2 separate regions of the Homo sapiens genome follow, and region 2 is linked to region 1. The links are contacts of gene promoters, found by promoter capture Hi-C in human tissues and cell types (Jung and others, 2019). All regions are on one chromosome and are shown on one strand. The core of a region is centred on a gene start or on the middle of the fragment in contact, and the rest is flanking DNA. Distances in the headings are between cores, read along the strand shown.

Region 1 (4,522 bases), core at 152-2,651:
TTCCCAGTGAGTAGAACAGAACTTGGCACAGACTGCTGTATTCCCAGTGAGTAGAACAGAACTTGGCTCATTCAATAATATTTCCTAAATGAAGGAATTGTTCAAATATCGCATGCTTTCTTCTATACCAATCTATTTCAACAAGTGGCCTTCAGCAAATACACAACGTTTTGAGGTATTTGAGAGAAAAAAAATTATACTAACACAAAGTGTCAACTGTTATCAGGATTTTCTTCAGCTAAAAAAAAAAGCCATTTCATACTTTTAGACATATACTTCCTGACTAAAAACAGGGTTTTAAGAAAAAGTCTTCCACCTTAAAATTCATATCCACTTCAAAGAGAAAAATTTCAGTCTAATGATAAACTGGGGTACTTTCTATTTACTAAGACTAATCTTTGCCTCTGAAGACAGGTTTAGTTATGGTTTGTTTATTTGATGATTAAAACAAAGTTATTAGCCCCTGTTAGGCTCTGCTAGTTATTTGCATATAGCAATACAGAATGATCTGGTAAAGTTTTTATGCAGATTTGGTCCAAGCTCATAAAACAGATAAATTCTTCCAAATTAAATTCTTATTTTTGTTTACTTAAATTTGGCATGCTAGATATCATGTTTCATATCATAAAGCTGCAATTAATCATTTGTTAGACTTTTAGAAATAGTCATGCACCACATAATAATGTTTGAGTAAATGACAAACTGCATATGTGATGGTGGTCCCATAAGATTATAATAACATATTTTTACTGTACATTTTCTATGTTTGCATATGTATAGATACAGAAATATCATTGTGTTACAATTGTCTATAGCATTCAGCATAGTTATAGACTGTACAGGTTTGTAGCCTAGGAGCAATAGGTATACCATATAGCCTACCTAGATGTATAGTAGGCTATATCATATAAGTCTGTGTAAGTACACTCTGTGATAGTCACACAATGACAAAATAGCCTAACAATGCATTTCTCAGAACGTATCCCTGTCATTAAGAATGACTGTAGTAAAAAGCTACATGTTTTGATTCATTTTACATAATTCTTATCCTGATTTACTAAAAGTGCACTGTTTGCAGGACACTGTGCTGTGACATATTGTCAGAGGAACAAAGGGAGCATTTAGACACGTTCTCTGCCCTCCTGGAATTTACACAATGAATGGAAAAAGGCACAGAGTTATGCACACCCTAATGCCTCCAACAATAACTGTTGACTTTTTATTTTCAGTCAGAGAAGCCTGGCAACCAAGAACTGTTTTTTTGGTGGTTTACGAGAACTTAACTGAATTGGAAAATATTTGCTTTAATGAAACAATTTACTCTTGTGCAACACTAAATTGTGTCAATCAAGCAAATAAGGAAGAAAGTCTTATTTATAAAATTGCCTGCTCCTGATTTTACTTCATTTCTTCTCAGGCTCCAAGAAGGGGAAAAAAATGAAGATTTTGATACTTGGTATTTTTCTGTTTTTATGTAGTACCCCAGCCTGGGCGAAAGAAAAGCATTATTACATTGGAATTATTGAAACGACTTGGGATTATGCCTCTGACCATGGGGAAAAGAAACTTATTTCTGTTGACACGTAAGTCACTATTTTTATTGTTTATAGACCAAAATTTTAAGTTATTTTTAAAGGATAGAGCCAATAAGATGAAATATTTTTAAAATTTCTTATATACAGAAACTGCAAAATGTGGGCTTGAAACCCAAGACACTTGAATCAATCTCCTTTATATTCCTGTATATTTTTTATTTGGTGGACTACCCTGCTTCTTTCCTGTTGTTCCTGGGGATCTGTGTTCACATCTTACTACCTCCCATGGTCGTAACTGCATCTCCGATTAGGAATCTGTCTTTTTATGTGTTTATGCAGAAGTTCTTTCATTTAAACAATTACTGTATACAATGTTATGTTTATTGCACCATTTAATGGTTATTCATGATAGGCATAAAATTTTTTTATATCTTTCAAAACATCACTTATAGAAATAAAATACAATTTTAGCAAATAAGATCCTGCCTGATATTTATTGAGAGACTCCAGACAGTTAAGTAGGTTAATCTTTCACAGCTTCAGGGTCCTAATTTGTAAAATGAGGATAATAAGCATAGCTCATAGGGTTATTTAAAGAGCGGGTGCATGTAAAGCTCTTAGTACAATGCTTGGCACATATGTGCATAAAAAAATGTCAGGTACTTATTAGGATGGTCCTCAAAAAGCTCCATGTAACTTAAATGTCTTCATTTTTCAGTTGGAAAATCCCCTTATTGAAAGCAATATTCACTACACAGTAAAACAAAAAGTTTAGTTCTCCTTGAAGTTTTTTGTACAGAAGTTTATCTATACTGAGGTCTTCACTTTTAATGATGTTAATTAAACATTAACCACCAAATGGGAACTTGGAATTCAAAATCAATATTCACTACATTAAAATGTATTTCAGTGGTAATAAAACACAAACAAGCCCAATGACCATCAGCTGCCAAGATTATATCTTTAAAAAACAGCTAAATAAGGATGCCGAAGTTTGTAATTATTGAATCTTATTGATGAGTATATACTATTTTCTTTAACATTATGTAAAGTTGAAATTTTTCACCATAAAAATAAATACATAACAGATACTAATATCCAATTATTATATTATGAATTTAATAATATACAATAAAGAAAGTTTCTGACCTGAAGATAAGTGGTTGTAAATAAAACTAATACATCTTGTAATTATTTCTTTTTTAACCTGGTTTTAAGGTGGTATTATCTTCTAAGGAATATGACATATTTTTACAGCTTCACCAGAAACATTATTTTGCATGGATTCAGTATTTTCTTGATTAAATATAATATAAATTATATGTGGTTTTTATTTCCAAGGAAAAAGTCAGACACATTAAAAAAATAAAAATACTATCCTTCTCTATGCCCCCACTCACCACCACTCTGCCATTGTTCGTGATCAAAAATCAAATCAGCTTTATCAGGCATAAACTAAGTGCAAGACATTGCCCTGAATATGCTTCAAAAAAAAATCTTTAATTCTAAAAATCAGGGAGTAGAAGAGTGAAGGAGTTTGTTTAGAATTTGGTGAATGGGGGCGGAGGAAATTCCTTTGTTTTTAATTACTCCTGTGGCCTGTCTGTGCCAGGGAAGCTACCCAATGAGTATAAGCCTGTTTACCCCATTGTGACTATATTAGTCTCTTCTTATGCTGCTAATAGAGACATACTCAAGACTGAGTAATTTATAAAGAAAAAGAGGTTTAATGGACTCACAGTTCCACATGACTGGGGAGGCCTCACAATCATGGTGGAAGGCAAAGGAGGAGCAAAGGCATGTCTTACATTGCAAACTTTCCCATACCTTCCTGTCATCTGAGCCCTCCAAGTCTCTAGGAAGTTCCAAACTTTCCCACATCTTGCTATCTTCTTCTGAGCCCTCCAAACTATTCCAGCCTCTGCCTGCTACCCAATTCCAAAGTCACTTTCACATTTTTGGGTACCTTTACAGTAGTGCCCCACTCCAGGTACCAATTTACTGTATTAGTCTGTTCTTACACTGCTAATAAAGACATACTCAAGACTGGGTAATTTATAAAGAAAAAGAGGTTTAATGAACTTACAGTTCCACATGGCTGGGAAGGCCTCACAATCATGGCAGAAGGCAAAGGAGGAGCAAAGGCACGTCTTACATGGCAGCAGCCAAGAAAGAGCTTGTGCAGGGGAACTCTCATTTATAAAACCATCAGATCTCATGAGACTTATTCACTACCATGAGAACAATATGGGGGAAACCACATCCATGATTCAGTTACCTCCACCTGGCCCCCTCCCTTGACATGTGGGGATTATTACAATTCAAGGTGAGATTTGGGTGGGGACACAGCCAAACCATATCAGTTACTTAAAAAGTATACTTAATAGAGATACTTAAGGCTCCTTAAAAGGAAAAATGGAGCATCTTCTAGTTGCAAAGTCCACCTCTCTTTTTGTTATTGTCCTGTGACTTTAACATCTCCTCTGGCTTCAACAATATGCTACAGTTTTGCAAACTCTAGGTGGGACTGCTTTCTCTGTGATTTTTTTCCCCCATATATCTTACCAGTGAATTTTGAATACAGCTTCAGCAATTTTGCCAATACTATGCTAAACTTTTTGCATAGATGTGTGCAGATAGCAACCTTTTGGTCCCTTCTTTGTCCCAGATTTGCAGCATGTTTAGCCCAGTCAGTGAAGGATGATGGAGTATCACAAGACATGGTTGGCACTTCTTATCGTATGATGACTAAAAAGGAGTGGAAATAAATGGGCTGAAGAATAAGATGTGAAAGAGTGTAATATGAATTTTAGGTAAAGAATCGAGTTTAAGCTGAATGTTGATCTTGAAGGTCTGGGATGATGAACAGGAAAATATGCATTGAGAGTACTAGTATATGCATATGCAAGTACTAGTGCTTGGTCACTAGTACCTAGAATATAGGAGACACTAAATAAATATTTCTGAATAAGTTTAAATGAGTAAAT
Region 2 (4,477 bases), core at 83-2,582, 62 kb before region 1:
CGCTGATTGGTGAGTTTACAATCCCTGAGCTAGACATAAAGGTTCTCCAAGTCCCCACCAGAGTAGCTAGATACAGAGTGTCGATTGGTGCATTCACAAACCCTGAGTTAGACACAGGGTGCTGATTGGTGTGTTTACAAACCTTGAGCTAGATACAGAGTGCTGATTGGTGTATTTACAATCCCCTAGCTAGACATAAAGGTTCTCCAAGTCCCCACCAGACTCAGGAGCCCAGCTGGCTTCACCCGGTGGATCCCGCACCAGGGCCGCAGGTGGAGCTGCCTGCCAGTCCTGTGCCCTGCGCCCACACTCCTCAGCCCTTGGGTGGTCGATGGGACTGGGTGCTGTGGAGCAGGGGGTGGCGCTCGTCGGGAGGCTCGGGCCGCACAGGAGCCCACGGGGCGCAGGGGGGTGGGGGGAGCTCAGGCATGGCGGGCTGCAGGTCCAGAGCCCTGCCCCGAGGGAAGGCAGCTAAGGCCCGGTGAGAAATTGAGCGCAGCAGCTGCTGGCCCAGGTGTTAAGACCCCTCACTGCCCGGGACCGGTGGGGCCTGCCGGCTGCTCCCAGTGTGGGGCCCACCGAGCCCACACCCACCGGAAACTCGTGCTGGCCCACAAGCACCACGCACAGCCAGGGTTCCCACCCGCGCCTCTCCCTCCACACCTCCCTGCAAGCTGAGGGAGCCGGCTCTGGCCTTGGCCAGCCCAGAAAGGGGCTACCACAGTGCAGCGGCGGGCTGAATGGCTCCTCAAGTGCTGCCAAAGTGGGAACCCAGGCAGAGGAGGCGCCAAGAGCGAGTGAGGGCTGCGAGGACTGCCAGCACGCTGTCACCTCTCACCATCTCCAACTTGACCAATCAACACTCCCTACTTTCCAAGCCCCTACCTGCCAAATTATATTTAAAAACTCTGATCCCCAAAGGCTCAGGGAGATCGATTTGAGTAATAATAAAACTCCAGTCTCCCGCACAATGGCTCTGGGTGAATTACTCTTTCTCCATTGCAATTCTCCTATCTTGATAAATCAGTCTGTCTTGGCAAAGTGAACCCATTGGTTGTTTACAGTACATTTTATAGATTTACAAAGACTCCCTCCTTTTTTTTCCTATCTTAGACTTTCGGTTTCTCGATAACCTGTTTCATAGCCCTAGGCAGTTGTCAGCTAAATAGTCTAAAATTTTCACATTAAAGGAAACAACTCAGGTGAAAATCAAATAGCAAAATTTACGTTATAAAATAGAAAGAGAAAAAAATCTGGCAGTGCTAGAAGGAGACACTTTTATTTTTCTTTGAGCCAAATTAAACATAAAATTAAACTACACTCTTCCTTAAAATCCCTAGAGTAGATTCTGTTGCAATAACTAGTTTAGTAAAAAAAAAAAAAAAAAAATCAGGTGAAAACAGAATTCAGTTAACTGAGAAAAAAAAAGAAAAAAAATAAACTTTTGCTCCAAAAGACAAGGTCTTAGGAGAGAAAAACAAACCAACAAACAAAACCAAAAACATGAAGGCCTTTCAAACATGCACACATGCACACATACACACACACACACACATCTTGGATGTTAGCCTTTTAATTAAGCTGACTTTTATCCAGTCCAAACTCAGCCTCCAGCAATTGTTAAAATTACCAGTTTATTGTGCCAGTGGCTTCTGCTCTAGGTAAGCATATTTCTTCTGTGACTCTAGATTGTCTGTCTCTTCAGATATGGGGATTTGCCCTACAAACTCCATTATCTGATGGGTTTAAGAAAAGCTGTTGATTTTCTTTGTCCAGTTTCTCTTGTTGTAAGGATTATGACTTCCATGCTCTTTACATGCTGGAGCTGAAACTGGAAGTCTTAGGGGTTGGTATTTGGGCATGTTGAATTTGACGAGTTCATTAGACTCTTGCTTCTCAAAGTGTGGTTCATGGACCTGCAGCACTGGCATCATCTGCGAGCCAGTGAGGAAATGCAGAATTTCAGACCCACCCAGACTTATAGAATACAGATTTTTCCTTTTAAAAAAATCTCCAGATGATTTTTCTGTGCATAAACATTTAAGAAGTTGCTATATTAACCATCTAAGTGGAAATGTGGCATAGATTATTGTATATACTGTTAGGCAGAGAGGTTCAAGCCAGAGACACACATTTCTGAGTTTTTGTCATGTTGGCACTATTTTAAGCCATGAAACAGATTCCCTGACCTACATCATGGACTTTAGTATCAGTGCACTCCAACTAAACCACAGGAACACATCTGTAGATGAACAAGTTGTGTTTGTTGCTTAACGCATTGAGAGAGAACATACATGATACAGAACCTTGGGGTATCTCAGAAAAAAAAAGCAGTGTTAAAAAGAACTTATTGTATGATTGGGGTTTGTGTTAGGTGATTTGTGGGGGATGTTTAAGGAAGCAGGGCTTTGCTCTGGATCAAAGGCAGTGAGAAAGTGGGGGAAATTTATGATTGGGTATCTTAATAAATGTAATCTATAAGAAAAGAAGAATGAAATAAAGCTAAAGCTATAATTGGTAAAGAGTAAAACAAAGCTAGAGCCATAAAATATAGTCAGGGAATGTGTGGTTATTTTTGAGATTTGGAGAATGTTCATGTTTCTCATGTATACTGTAAACCAAAAATAAAATTCTAAGGTCCCCCAACCATCTGAAAGGACTTCCTCCTCAGCCAAGGCTCTTTTAAAATTTTACCTGGAGACTGTTTCAGGCCTTGAAGGGCAGCGGGGGTTGGACATGCCTCATTACACCTCTCAACATTAACACCAACACAGACTTTAAGTCTGATAAGAAACATTTTTACAACCTATTGTTTCTGAAGCCTACTACCTAAAAGCTTCCTCTGTAAATAACTTGGGTCTCCACAATTCTTTATCTTAACCCAGACCTGCCTTTCTGTTGATCCAAGGTCTTTATACAAATTCAACCAATTGTCAACCAGAAAATGTTTAAATTTACTTATAGCCTGGAAGCCCCCACTCGGCATTGTCCCGCCTTTCTGACCAAACCAATGTATTTCTTAAATGTATTTGATTGATGTCTCATGCCTCCGTAAAATGGTATAAAACCAAGCTGCACCCCAACCACCTTGGGCACATGTTCTCAGGTCCTCCTAAGGGTTGTGTCACAGGCCATGGTTACTCATATTTGGTTCAGAATAAATGTCTTCAAATATTTTACGGAGTTTGACTCTTTTCATCAACAATATTCAGACATTTTCTGGAGTGGTATTGTTTTTCTTCTGGCTCCATTAGGGTCACAGAGTGGTGCTGTCTGATGTTGGTGTTCTGGGAGATTGTTTATGCCAAGGAGGAGGACACCAGGGCCTAGCTGTGAGTGCCAGGCCAGCTCCTAGTTGGGCAAAGCTTAGCCACTAGTACCAGGACAGCTCCTGGATGTTGGGGGGCTGCTTTTCTCTTTCTTACTGTTCAGTGTCTTCCCACTATTCCCTTCTGTGCCTTGCTTTGTAGGCCTCCAGTGTCTTATGTAGTCTACCCCATACTGCGAAAGCTTGTAATTTGCATAGCCTTAAACTGCGAAGGACTCAGAGCTCCAGCCCAAGTGGAACTCTCTCTGCCCCAGCTGCTAGCTGCTCTACTTATTCAAATTTTTCTAATCTAGTATATAGTTTCCCATAGAATAACCTTGATTATAAGGCAAGGAGTTTAATGGTAGGGCATCCACCAGGCTTTAAGTCCTGGATTTAAATTCTGGCAATAACATTTAGTTGTTTTGGTTAGTTGTTTAAAATCTCCAAGTTCCAGTTTCCTTATCTATAAAAGAGAACTTAATAAGCTTCCCTTTCAGAGTTGGTGGCACAATTAGAGCTAATATTTACAAAAGGGCTAAGGAAGAGCTGACTTTCAACAAATGGTGGTTATTGGTAGAAGTAATACAAAGAATAGAAATGGATCTAACAGTGACTGACATCCTCCATGGTGTCTTTAAACTCCCCATCTTGCCCCAACATCATTTATATCTAATTTATCAGCTTTGTTGGAAGATATAATTAGAGCCATATACTCTGAGAAAAACTGAGCATTTGTAGGTAATATAGAAGTCTACACACTTAAACTATTAAAGCCACTGCTATTACAGGTAGTATGAAAAGAACAGAAAATTTTATTTGGAATCCAGTAATCTATAGCTGACTACTGGCACTACAATTTGGAAATGTGCATTCTACAGCAAGTTACTTGACCTTTTGAGTTTTTGGTCTCTTATCTACAAATCAGATGTAAGGAAGGGGCAGGGGTAAGGGAGAGACTGTTGGGAAAATTACATAGGGTAATAATTTTCATTTATAAAATATTTTCTATATAGCAGAGTTTTTTACAAACAGATGTTATTATCACTAGTCCCTTATGCACATTTTTATTTGCTGTATTTATTTCTTAAACTTATTTACAGTTCTGGAATGGAAAAACCAGGAAGGAATCTAAATTTCCTCCAAGGTATTTAGCCTCACACCTTCAGG

The links. Contacts are between HindIII fragments. The study calls those that stand out against the background at their distance.
Region 2: a fragment that was not itself captured here is called in contact with the fragment with the promoter of CP in region 1 in 1 of the 25 tissues and cell types used here (spleen).

Annotation. Positions count from the first base shown.
Region 1 is chr3:149,218,708-149,223,229 of GRCh38, reverse strand. It overlaps CP (ceruloplasmin), which reads left to right and starts at 1,401. Exons shown (of 19, transcript NM_000096.4): 1 at 1,401-1,583. The coding sequence starts at 1,438. The HindIII fragment of the contact is 15,133 bases long and covers 1-4,522 here.
Region 2 is chr3:149,280,199-149,284,675 of GRCh38, reverse strand. No RefSeq gene overlaps it. Among named protein-coding and RNA genes, the nearest start is that of TM4SF18-AS1, 2.3 kb to the left of the region's middle. The HindIII fragment of the contact is 4,643 bases long and covers 1-3,653 here.